Regions from separate parts of the Homo sapiens genome. Here region 2 is linked to region 1. The links are contacts of gene promoters, found by promoter capture Hi-C in blood cells and fetal thymus (Javierre and others, 2016). All regions are on one chromosome and are shown on one strand. Each heading gives the region's core, a stretch centred on a gene start or on the middle of the fragment in contact. The rest is flanking DNA. Distances are from core to core; before and after follow the strand shown. Region 1 holds the start of GSX2 (GS homeobox 2). Region 2 overlaps LOC124900702 (a long non-coding RNA gene).

Evidence for each region. Contacts are between HindIII fragments. The CHiCAGO score rates a contact against its expected background, and 5 or more counts as called.
Region 2: a contact is called between a fragment that was not itself captured here and the fragment with the promoter of GSX2 in region 1, in 1 of 17 cell types (neutrophils). The highest score is 5.1, in neutrophils.

Annotation. Positions count from the first base shown.
Region 1 is chr4:54,096,429-54,102,257 of GRCh38, forward strand. GSX2 (GS homeobox 2) reads left to right here and starts at 3,735. Exons shown (of 2, transcript NM_133267.3): 1 at 3,735-4,490; 2 at 5,154-5,829. The coding sequence starts at 3,917. The coding sequence ends at 5,494. RefSeq lists enhancers at 1-201, 3,579-4,369, 4,370-5,161, 5,162-5,829. The HindIII fragment of the contact is 4,571 bases long and covers 3,106-5,829 here.
Region 2 is chr4:53,900,928-53,906,756 of GRCh38, forward strand. All of the region lies in intron 1 of LOC124900702 (a long non-coding RNA gene), which reads left to right. Among named protein-coding and RNA genes, the nearest start is that of CHIC2, 160 kb to the right of the region's middle. The HindIII fragment of the contact is 1,398 bases long and covers 2,636-4,033 here.

The sequences.
Region 1 (5,829 bases), core at 2,485-4,984:
CTCATTAAAGGGAGCTGGGGGCAAGTAAGTCCTGTCTCCTGTTTGTGTTCGGCTAACAAAACCCAGCTTTGAGATCATTCATCGCTTTGGAAACTAATATGAAATCAATGTAAGAGGAGCAAATAAATCCGAGGCGGCCCCGCCAACTCCCCGGCTGTCCCGCCCTGCCTGCAGCCTCCATTTGGAGCTGGAGAACCATGTGGGCAAATGCTGAAACTAAGAGAAAAAAGGACTGGGGATGAAAGTGGTGGTGGGGGAGGTGGGGAGGTTTGGAGGACACAGAGGGAGGGGCAAAGTGGGAGTTACAGCCTGAAAAAAACAGCTAAGCACAGGAACGGGTCAGAACTCTGGGGCCTGTTGAATAAGCAATGCTAAGTCCCTGCCCTTTACTTGTCCTGACTTTGCCCATGAAAGCAAACAGGAAGAAAGAGAAGTGAGACAGGAATGTGGGGTTCAGGTCAGGTGCCATTCCAGAGCTGGGAAGAAGTACTGGAGACCTTTTGGAAGCTAGAACTGAGAATCCAAATCTCAGGGTTGGGCTGAAAGGAAACTGCTCACCCAGGCTCAACTTGGAGAATCGAGAGACAAGAAGGCCATGCCTCTGCTGTTCTTTCTAGAATAGCTTTGATTTTTTTTTTGTAAGTTGAGGGTAAGGGTGGAGTGCCTTGGCCAGGAGGAGGTACAAAGAACAATTTTGTTACCATCACATATGTGACACTGTCTTGCACTCAAGGAAGACAAAACCATACTCTATTGTCCCAAGCAAGAGGGAGATAATAAAAAGATTTCCCCTTTCCTTTAAAAGAACTAATTTTCTCCTTGAATTATGAAAGTAATGGCTTAGGTAACAGCCTGTACTCTGTACCCGACTGCTTAATACAGAATAAATCCTTCCACGTGGCTCCTGGAGTTGTGGCAATTAGAGCTCATTATAGGCTCATAAGAGCTCTCATTTTGGGGATTACTTAATGGACGATGAAATTTTATCGGACAGAATCACTGAGAAATAAAATTGTGTGGCGGCTCAGACACCATGGGCACACGCCAATGGTCTGTCTGTTCCCTCTCAGGAAAAGAAAGCTGAACTTGGGGTCTCCTGCTGGTTCAGGGCACTGCACTCTGGGGAACAGTAGGGCTGGGCAGGGCTGGGGTGGGGGGTGGGCAGTGCTGCCCCGGGGGCATGGAGGGTAGGCTTCCTTTGAGGAGGGGATAGGCAGGTAGGGCCAGATAGGGGCTGGACTCAGAAGAGAAGGAGGGAGAGAGACTGGCAGACACTGAGAGATCCAAAGAGAACTAGAGAAGTGAGTCAGAGTGGACAGAAACTGTGCAAGAAATGGGATTCCAGTATACTTGCTCTTGGTGGGCTGAAGGAATTAACCAAGTACCCTAAGGGTCAAGTTTTTCAGACATGGTCTTGCTTTCAGCCTCAGCCTGGTCTGAAACCACTGCTCCCCTTGAAGTCTTTAGGAAACCCCATGAGCCCCTCACATTTCTCAAAACTCCTTGGCACTGAAAAATGAAAGTTTCCACAGTCAGACACAAATTGAATAAGATGCACAAGCCTCTTGCATAGTTAAGATTCTCTAAGGTAAAATGGTCTGCACATGGGTGCGATTTCTAGGACTTTAGCATAGGAGCTCTTCCTCTGAACACATCCCAAACTGCTGGGAACATTGTGACTCAAACCATCAGCCCAAAACAGACTGTGGATAACCTGGGACCTAACCCAGAGGAGGAAAAGAGAGAAAGCTATTATTCTTAAAGAGTATCTGTATCTATATCTATATATGCTTGTATAGTTGCAAAGTGAATGGGGGGAATCGAGTCATCTATTTGGACAGTTTAGGACTGTAAAAAATATCCTGCCATTCAGCAGGGTATGTTTTTTATTGCCATTCTCCATCAGTGGCTCCAAGCCTTCTTCTTGGGGCTGAAATGATTTCGGGGATTGCCTAGATCCTCCAGTCATGAACAAGGGCGGGCTGGGGTGAGCCTGAGCGTCTGCAGACCTTGTGGTACAAAAGTAGTTACAGCTGAGCTGCCCCATGTTAAGCCCTGAGACTCCTTAATTGTTGTCACAAGATGTTGGATTAGCACATTTCTGGAATAGCTGTCTGTTTACACTCCAGAGACCCACCGTCCACTAACCGCTTTCTAATTGAATTCTAATCACATTCAAATAGCTCAATAACCAGCCTCAGCTGCAATTCATAAAACTTTAATTGCCATCCATAAATCCTGGGCTCCCCAGAGCCGGGCATCCCTACAACCCAATTACACTTCTCTAGCAGGCAAGAGAGACTGTCACAGAGATGGAGAGGGGAAGACAGAGGATGGAAAGATAGAGCCGTGCCTCTAGCTAGTGCTCTCCTGGATTTGGGCACCTTGTTCTCTCAGGTGGAGGGAGTCCTGTCTCTAAGTTTCTTAGCACCATCATGAACTCAGGATTGAAGTTAGCTGCTCTGGAAAAAGGATCAGACTTCTAACTATTGCCCAACCACATGGCCCCAGCCCGCTTTTCTGCAGGGGGAAATGAAGAGAGAAAATGGCCACCTCTGCTGCCTTGCCTTCTCCGAAGATAAATAGTCCCAATAGTTTGGCAGCCACCCTCTCTCGGGCAGTAAGGGGTGTGCAAGACTTCCATGGACCAGAGAGAGTTCCCTTACAAAGCCACTTCTGCCAATCAGAGGCAAGATTCCCTGGATGGCTGAATCCTCTTCATCCTTTTTAGGTTCTTAAGATGCAGAGGAAAGAGTGCTTCCTGGTTAGCCTTGCTAAGCTGCCCATGATTGGTAAAAATGAGGGACAGGAAATCCTCAGACCCAGAGCGAAGGTCTATCTAATCCCTGCTGCGTCTTTAGGAGGGCTTGGTGTTTGAGGTCCTCCCTCCAAAATCTTCAGGATGGAGTTTGTAGGATTGCCCTGGAATGCCATGGTGTTACTACTTGGAGAAAGAAAAGGGTGACTCTTCAACATCTCTCTCTCTCTGCGGAAGTGGGAGGTGCCGATCAGAAAGGGAAACAAGGAAGGGTCGTTGGTCTGAGTGGCCCCAGGAGGGCCCCAAGTACAAAGACACTTCAGACCTTGTCGAACATCAGCATGAAAAGCTTGACGGTTTCTTAGCTGGGAGGCCTCACAGTTCTGCGCCGGACAGTCCTGAACTAACCACCTGAATGACCTCTGCCAAGTCCAAAAGCTGTGGACAGGGGTAGGTGTAACCGTGGCCAGAGCTGCGCTCAGGGACTGGACGACTGCCAGTCCGTCGCCCGCACAATCCTGCTCCAAACCGCAGGCCTCACACTTCACCGCGCCGCAGCCACCCCTACCACAGAGGAGCTGGAAACACTGAGCATTCCTATTAAATAAGCCTCCAAGTCCCCACCTGGTACGCTTTGCGGTGGGGCGTGGGGAAGAGTTGGGCTGCGGCCAGGGTAGCGAGAGGGGGTGGGATGGAGGATGCAGCGCTGTGATTTCTCAGTAAAGCGTGGAGAAAGAGGGGGAGGAGGCCGGCCTCCCCGGGAAATTAACAAAACCTACACTTTGCAAAGTCTCCCCCATCCCCCTCCCCCGAGTTCTTCCCCGCCGCGCGCCCGCCCCTCCTCGCGGCTTCTGTTGTGACTCGGGCAGCCTATCCCGAGGGTGCGGAGCTGCCGAGGAGCCTGAGCCGAGCGGTACTCCGCAGCATCACGTGCCAGGGTGGGGGGCTATAAAATACCCGAGCCGGGGCGCCGGGCGGGGGACGTGAGGACCAGCCCTCTCCGGGGACCCCTTTGTTCCCAGCCCAGACGCCAACACCTCTGCGTCCCCAAGGGCTTGACTGCCCGTGTCTGCGCGGCTCCCAGGGCAGAGCTTAGAACACTAGAGGAGAGGGGTCGCCGCGAACTGCCGGGGCTTCCAGCCACCCACCCCTCTCGACATGTCGCGCTCCTTCTATGTCGACTCGCTCATCATCAAGGACACCTCACGGCCTGCGCCCTCGCTGCCTGAACCGCACCCCGGGCCGGATTTCTTCATCCCGCTTGGCATGCCGCCCCCATTGGTGATGTCCGTGTCCGGCCCCGGCTGCCCGTCCCGCAAGAGCGGCGCGTTCTGCGTGTGCCCTCTCTGCGTCACTTCGCACCTGCACTCCTCTCGGGGGTCTGTGGGCGCCGGCAGCGGGGGCGCAGGGGCCGGGGTTACCGGGGCCGGAGGCAGTGGGGTGGCAGGGGCCGCAGGGGCACTGCCTCTGCTTAAGGGCCAGTTCTCTTCGGCTCCTGGGGACGCGCAGTTTTGCCCGCGGGTGAACCATGCGCATCATCACCACCACCCGCCGCAGCACCACCATCACCATCATCAGCCCCAGCAGCCTGGCTCGGCCGCGGCGGCGGCAGCAGCAGCAGCGGCGGCGGCGGCCGCGGCGGCCTTGGGGCACCCGCAGCACCACGCACCTGTCTGCACCGCCACCACCTACAACGTGGCGGACCCGCGGAGATTCCACTGCCTCACCATGGGTAGGGCGGGGTCTTGGGGCACCTGCGCTCCGCGCCTTTCGCGCTCCTGGAGCAAACTTTCCACCTCCAGTGGAGGAAGTGGGAGCCCGGGGACAGGGTGAAGAGAGAGGACGGGCTTTTAGTGTAACCGTAGAGTCAGCCACAGAAGTTCCACGAAAGTGGAAGTTAGTTTGCCAGCTTCTCCACTCAGCCTGGTGCGTTTTACTCCTAGTAGTAGGTGCTCGAGTATTGCCTTATTAATACTGGGGCCTTAGGGACCTCGAACGTCACGGCGGATAAACCAGAGGTTAACTGCTTGGGATTTGGGGTGGGTGTGTTTGAACCTGTGTGGCATCCCCGCGTCGGGGCGGCTAAAGCGTCTTGACGTTTTTGGCTAAGCCTGCGCGCTTCTCCGCTTGGCTCAAAGGGAGGCGATCAGATAGTGCAAGCCCCCATCCCTCTTTAATCCTGTGACTTCGCATCCTGCGCATCGAAGACCTTTATTTGCTTTGCACGTCTCTTTTCTTCCCCGCTAAGCAACCACGTGCCTTGAAATGGGAAAGGGATACAGATGTTCGGCTGGGCTTCCCCGGGTGGGTCCCTGAAATGCGTCCTGGTTAGCACATGGGGTGGGAGCACCTTGCCCGAGCCTTACCTCTCTACCCTCTCTTCGCCGGTCCGCAGGAGGCTCTGACGCCAGCCAGGTACCCAATGGCAAGAGGATGAGGACGGCGTTCACTAGCACGCAACTCCTGGAGCTGGAGAGAGAATTCTCTTCCAACATGTACCTGTCTCGACTCCGGAGGATTGAAATCGCCACTTACCTGAACCTGTCGGAGAAGCAGGTGAAAATCTGGTTTCAGAACCGCCGAGTGAAGCACAAGAAGGAGGGGAAGGGCACGCAGAGGAACAGTCACGCGGGCTGCAAGTGCGTCGGGAGCCAGGTGCACTACGCGCGCTCCGAGGATGAGGACTCCCTGTCGCCGGCCTCAGCCAACGATGACAAGGAGATTTCCCCCTTATGAGGGAGGGCCTCCTCCCTCACATCCCCCGCTCCTGGCAGACCAGGCAACGCCAAGGCGTGGGGCACCCAGGGGCCAGAATCCTTGCTCATTGCAGTGGTCCCATCTGGAGAAGAAACGAACCTGGAAGTTCTGGAATGGACAAGCCGGGACCTGACCCTTCGCGTCTCCTTCTTGACCTGTTTATCTAGGACTCCAACTTGAAGTTACAGATTTTTTTAAAAAATGTAAATAACCTATAATTCAACTCATTCTTGTCGTATAACAGAGGAAAAACAGGGTTGGTTTAAGTTTAACACTGTATGGGGTTTTTGAAAGCACATGTCAGTTCCCCATCC
Region 2 (5,829 bases), core at 2,085-4,584, 200 kb before region 1:
GAGAATGGCTTGAACCTGGGAGGCAGAAGTTGCAGTGAGCCAAGAACATGCCACTGCATTCCAGCCAAGGTGACAGAGTAAGACTGTGTCTCAAAAATAAGAATCAGAAACAAAAACAAAACAAATGGATGGGTCTATAGCAACATGTGCCTGTGCTATGCTAATCACTTTATTTTTCATGACCTATCTCATTTAATCACCACAACAATCCTATGACGTTGGATTGTAATCCACATTTTACAGATGAAAAAAAAGGAGGCTTTTAACTTCCTTAAGTTAAAAAAAAAACAGCAACAACAAAAACTTTCCAGTAAGAGACAGAGATAGTATTTGGATGCAGGTCTGTCAGACTCAAAGTCACCTAATTGCTGCATCTTATGGTCTTTCTAACTTCCATAAGACAAAGTCACTCAGCAAAAGTTTTTTTTTTTTTTTTTTAAGGGCGGAGGCAGTGAAACCAATGATGCCCCCATGCTAAAGTCTGCATACTCTGATTGTAGCTAGATAACTGTTATCCAGAACAGGGCAAAGCACAGTGCAGGTGTTCAATAAATAACTGTTGGTTCGAAGAAAGGAAGGAGGAGAAGGAAGGAAGGAAGGGAGAAAAGGAAGGAGGGAGTAAGAGGGAAGGAAGGAAGAAGGGAGGGAGGGAGGGAGGGAGGGAGGGAGGGGGAAGGGAAGGGGAGGGGAGAAAGGGAAGGGAAGGGAATGGGAGGGGAGAAAGGGAAGGGAAGGAAATGGGAGGGGAGGAGAGAAGAAGGGAGGGTAGGGAAGACAATGGCAGAGAGAGAGGGAAGGACAAAGGGAAGGAAGGAAGAAGGAAGGAAGGGGAAGGGAAGGTAAAAGGGAAGGAAGGAGGAAGGCAGGAAGGAAGAAGGGAAGGGAAAGGAAAAGAAAGAAGGGAGGGAGGGAGGAAGGAAGGGAGGGAGGGACAAAGGGAAGGGAAGGGAGGGAGGGGTTGAGGGAGGGAGGGGAAAGGAAGGGAGGAAAGAAGGAAGGAGAAGGGAGATAAAGAGGAAGGGAGGGAGGGAGGGAGGGACGGAGAGAGGGAGGGGATAGTAAAGGAGGGCTTCTCTGAAGATCGTCAGAGAAAGACCAAGAGTCTTTGGCCAATGAGAGAATCAGCTTCCTGCTCTGTGACTGATGCTGCTGACATCCAGGGAGCCCCAAATGCCTTCCTTGACAGGGGGTACTTCTGCAACACCTGCCCCAGTTCTAGGCACATCAGCATCTCCAGCTTGCATTAGTGGTCACTGGGCCCTGGCTGGATTGACACTATGACCTACTGGAGAGGGAAGAAACAGAAACACCAGAGTCTTGAGTGAAAACTCCCTGTCTCCCTCCCACCTCTGGTTCCTCGGCCACACTGAGAAATATACTTTAAGATCAGACTCCAAAGCCCACGACTGACTTTACTTGGAGTGGAGATGGGATCAGTGTGTGTGTGTGGCATGCGGGCGGGCGGGAGGTGGTTAATAAACTTCTTTCTTTGATGATTGTGAAGACACAGGCTCTCTCTCCTTAGCAAGGGCTTCTCATTTGAAGCAGCGCGTGATAACTCATTGTGTGACCGCCTGTTTTCTCTGCAGATCTGAGCTGAAAAGGATCATACCAGATTTATTTCATTGCTGTAGAGCCAGTCCCACCACACTGCCTGGGCACATAGAAGGCATGTTTTGTTAATTTATGCAGTCAATACAAACTAATTGATTGCAGATCTTCAATCCTTTGTAATTCCAAACTCCCAAAATGCTCTGAAAACCAAAAGATTTTCTGTAAGCTGGCAGCAAGCTCATTGAACTCACCGGAACGGATGCATGGCAGTCCCCAGTCTTTATGATCTGCCTTAATTGTGACTACAGTCTTCTCCCCTCATCCATAGTTTCTTTTTCCGAGGCTTCTGTTACCAATGGTCAACAACAGTCCAAAAATATTAAATGGAAAAATCCAGAACTAAAAAATTTATGTTTTTAATTGCTTGCCATTCTGAGAGAAGTGTGATGAAATCTCACGCTGTCCCAGTCTGTTCCACCTGGGAAATGAATCATCCTTTTGTTTAGTATATCCATGTTGTATGTGCTGCCTTCCCCATACAGTGTGGTTATATAAGAAAAAACACAATGAGGCCAGGTGTAGTGGGTCACACCTGTAATCCAGCACTTTGGGAGGCCAAGGCAGGAAGACTGCTTAAGTCCAGAAATTCAAGACCAGCCTAGGCAACATATGAAGATCCTGTCTCTACAAAAAATTAACAAAATTAGCCTGATGTGGCAGTACACACCTGTAGTCTCAGCTACTCAGAAGGCTGAAGTAGGAGGATCGCTTGAGTCCGGGAGGTTGAGGCTACAATGAGTTGCGATAGTGCCACTGTACTCCAACCTGGGTAACAGAGCGAGACTCTATCTTAAACAGAAGGAGGGAAGGAAGGAAGAAAGGAAGGAGGGAGGGAAGGAGGGGGGGGAAGGGAGGGGAGGGGAGAGAGAGAGAAAGAGAGAAAGAAAGAAAAAAGAAAAGAAAGAAAGGAAAGAGAAAGAAAGAAAGAAAGAAAGAAAGAAAGAAAGAAAAAAGAAAAGAAAGAAAGAAAGGAAAGAAAGAGGGAGAAAGAAAGAGTTTACATAGGGTTTGGTCTTGCCCAAGCTTGCAGGCATCCACTGGTGGTCTTGGACTGGATCCCCCATGGATAAGAGGGCACTACTGTATTGATACATTTTGCATGTTTCACAGCAGAAAAGCAAATGTGTTTGATTATGGGATGCAGCCCCAAACTCTGTGGGGGTGTTATATAACTTAGTGATACTCACCATTTGAGATTCCTAAATTCTGAATTGTCAAAACACTTGGCCCCGATGGGCTTCAGATAAGGTGTTTGGGATGTGTATCTGTTTGTATCAGGCATTGAGGTGCTGAGAATACTGTAGTTGAATAAAACCATCAAGGCCTTTACTGTCTTGGAATTGACTTTTCAGCTAACAAGACAATAACAAGGAAGCAAATACGATAATTTCTGAAAGAGATAAGTGTTCTGAAGAAATGAAATCAGGAGAATGGAATAGAGATATGATGGATATTAGAGAAATCCTTGCTAAGAAGACATAAATAAAGAAAACGTAACAACCTGGTGAAGAGATTATTTCAAGGCACTTTCACTCATTCATTCATGCCCATTCCATTCCTACCTCAGGACCTTTATACCTGCTGTCTCTTTTACCTGGAAGAAGCAAATTATGTAACCTTCTCGAAACTCATTTTGCTTAAGATTGCTCATGTCTGTAAAGTGTCAGGGCTGGAACAAAAATCAAAGCTCTATGACACAAAGTTAGATTTGTGGGGTCATGAGGGAAACACCCACCTTAAGAGCAGGTTTGGAGGATTAGATAGAAGTTCTCTATGAACTTGACCACAATAGCTGATATCACAGCACAGTTTCTCCTCTCTCAGTAATAAAGACTCAGATCAAGGCAGCATCTCTCTGAGCAAGGAATGAGGATCCTTCTATAGAAAAGCTGGGACCTGGCTAGTGTGTCTACTGAACTGCTCTTTCAAAGTTCTGCACTCCCTCCACACGGGGCTTGAGTTTCCATAGACAAAAAAACATAACATGGTCACCAAAGAGAACCTTCAGCATTGTTTCTCCAGCAACTGAGACTCCAGTGAAAAGTACACCTTCCTGGGAACCAGCACCCAACCTATCCTGGACCAGGTCTCCCAGCCAATGGTGCTGCTCGTGAGTGTCCAGTCCTCAATTGTTTTGTTATTATTGTTGCTATTGTTGTTGGGTTTCCCTTGGTCTTCTTATTTAAGAGAAGGTAGAGGCTGCTCTAGGGGCAATGCTTATGCCTGGAACGAATGAGCCTTTATTGTGGACAAGCTCTGTGAGTGAAGGCCCTCCTTGAGTCTGGTGATAAAAATAGGCTATGGCCAGGCAGGATACAGAAGAGCATGACCAATCACCAAATAAAGGTTTATTGGCTTATACATTTTATTGTACCGTGACATCCCTCCTTTCAGCTTTAGATGTCAGCAGCTGGTGGCAAGCTTAATGACTGATGCATAGGGGAACAGCCATGGACACCACAGTTTGGCTCCCCCTAAAACAGTGATGCTTCATCCTTACTTGGCCAGCTTCTGGAATCCTAGTGAACACACTACAGAACATCAGGTTTGCCTGGGCAGTAACATCCAAGGGGAGCTTCCAGGTTCCTCTTGGCTGAGCAAGACTATTTTTTTCCTTATTTCAAAGAGCTGTTGTTCTGACTAAAGGAAGAGAGGATGTATATGGTAATGAGAACTGTATACATTTCTCCTAAAGTCTCCTACTTTATCTTCTTTAATTCTGCATCTGACTCTGCCTGGGTAGAAATCGTATTCAAAATTATCCCAGCCTCTTCAATCTCCTTAATAAGATCTCTCAAAATGGAACACACTGTCTCGTGTGCCTATAAGGGATGTGCAATGCCTCTTTTGTGCTTTTGTTCACTCTTATCTGATGTTCTAACACATTTTCACTTTGAGGAGTTTGGAAATGTATCTGCATAGTCATTGCCGTTTAAGTACTCCACTGATTACAAAATGCTTTCATACACATTGTCTTGAGGAAATGCTCTGAAAAATAAACTGCTAACACTCTGGTAAAGAGCCTTCTGCAGTTAGCAAAATAGTCACCAGGACCTTCTTTTTAAATGACTACACTTTCCACACTTTTTCTATCTTTGTTGACTTAAGTTCAAAGTCAAACTAGAAAATCTGTTTTGTCAGATGGAAGTTCGCTACTCACCGTTCTGAGAGGCTCCATGCACAGCTCATTGTGTTACCCCACTGCACAGAATCTACTCTTCTAGAGAGACACTGGCAGCTTTGTGCTTTGCATTTATTTATTCAATGCTGCAGTGGCTTAAGCCAGTTTATGGAAAATATCTCTAAACACTGAGACCTCAGGGCTAGGAGGAATTCCTAGACGAGCTCTAAATCAGTAGTTATGTTTGGCAGATTCTATATTCCCACGGAAAGGCCAACTAAACAGTCATTACGCTTTATAGGCGTGCCTGTGTGTCCTTCGTTATTTTGGAAGTATCAAGCAGGGCCTAGAAGCATGGTATAGTTAGTGCCAGCACATAGTGGTGGCCTGCAGTCCAACCATGCTGATTGATTTGATGTTTAGGGAGGCAGTTTCAGAGGAAATACGGTAACTCGCTTGTCTATCACCGTGCTTCCTGGATGAGCCCCAGAAATGCAGCGTTTGGGATACCATTAGCAAGCGTGTGGCAGCCTTGCCCTGCTGAGACTGCTGGTGATTGAAAAGTGCTCAAACTGTGGTCAGAGAAGAAGTGTGCAGATGAAAAGAAGGGAGATAAGTCTTCGATCACGACGCCTGCCCTTCTTCACCTAAATATCCCCCAGGACAGTTTGCCAAACACCAGCCTGTTGCTCAAATGAGAGAAAATAAGCCTTTAGTTTCTGTTTCCACTCTGCTTCATAAATTAACACCATCAACTGACTTTTCCCCGGCCTTTCTCCCACAGCTTATCTTTACTGCCAATAATCCTACCCATGAGAAAGATCTTTGACAAGTCAAGTACTACATAAATTCAAGAAATTCATATGTGGTATTTCATGCACATTTCAAATAAAGAAACTTACAAGGATACCGTTTAAAAAAAAAAAAGAACATCCCCATAGTTTTGAAGCAAATGTGCATTTTCTCGTTAGTAAAGAGACGTTTCCTTCCCTCTAACTTCCCAGTGTTGGACAAAGGACTAAAATTTCATGTTATAAGGAAAGCATGTAAACTCCGCACTGCTTTTCTCTGAAATAGCAGTCATTTCAATGATG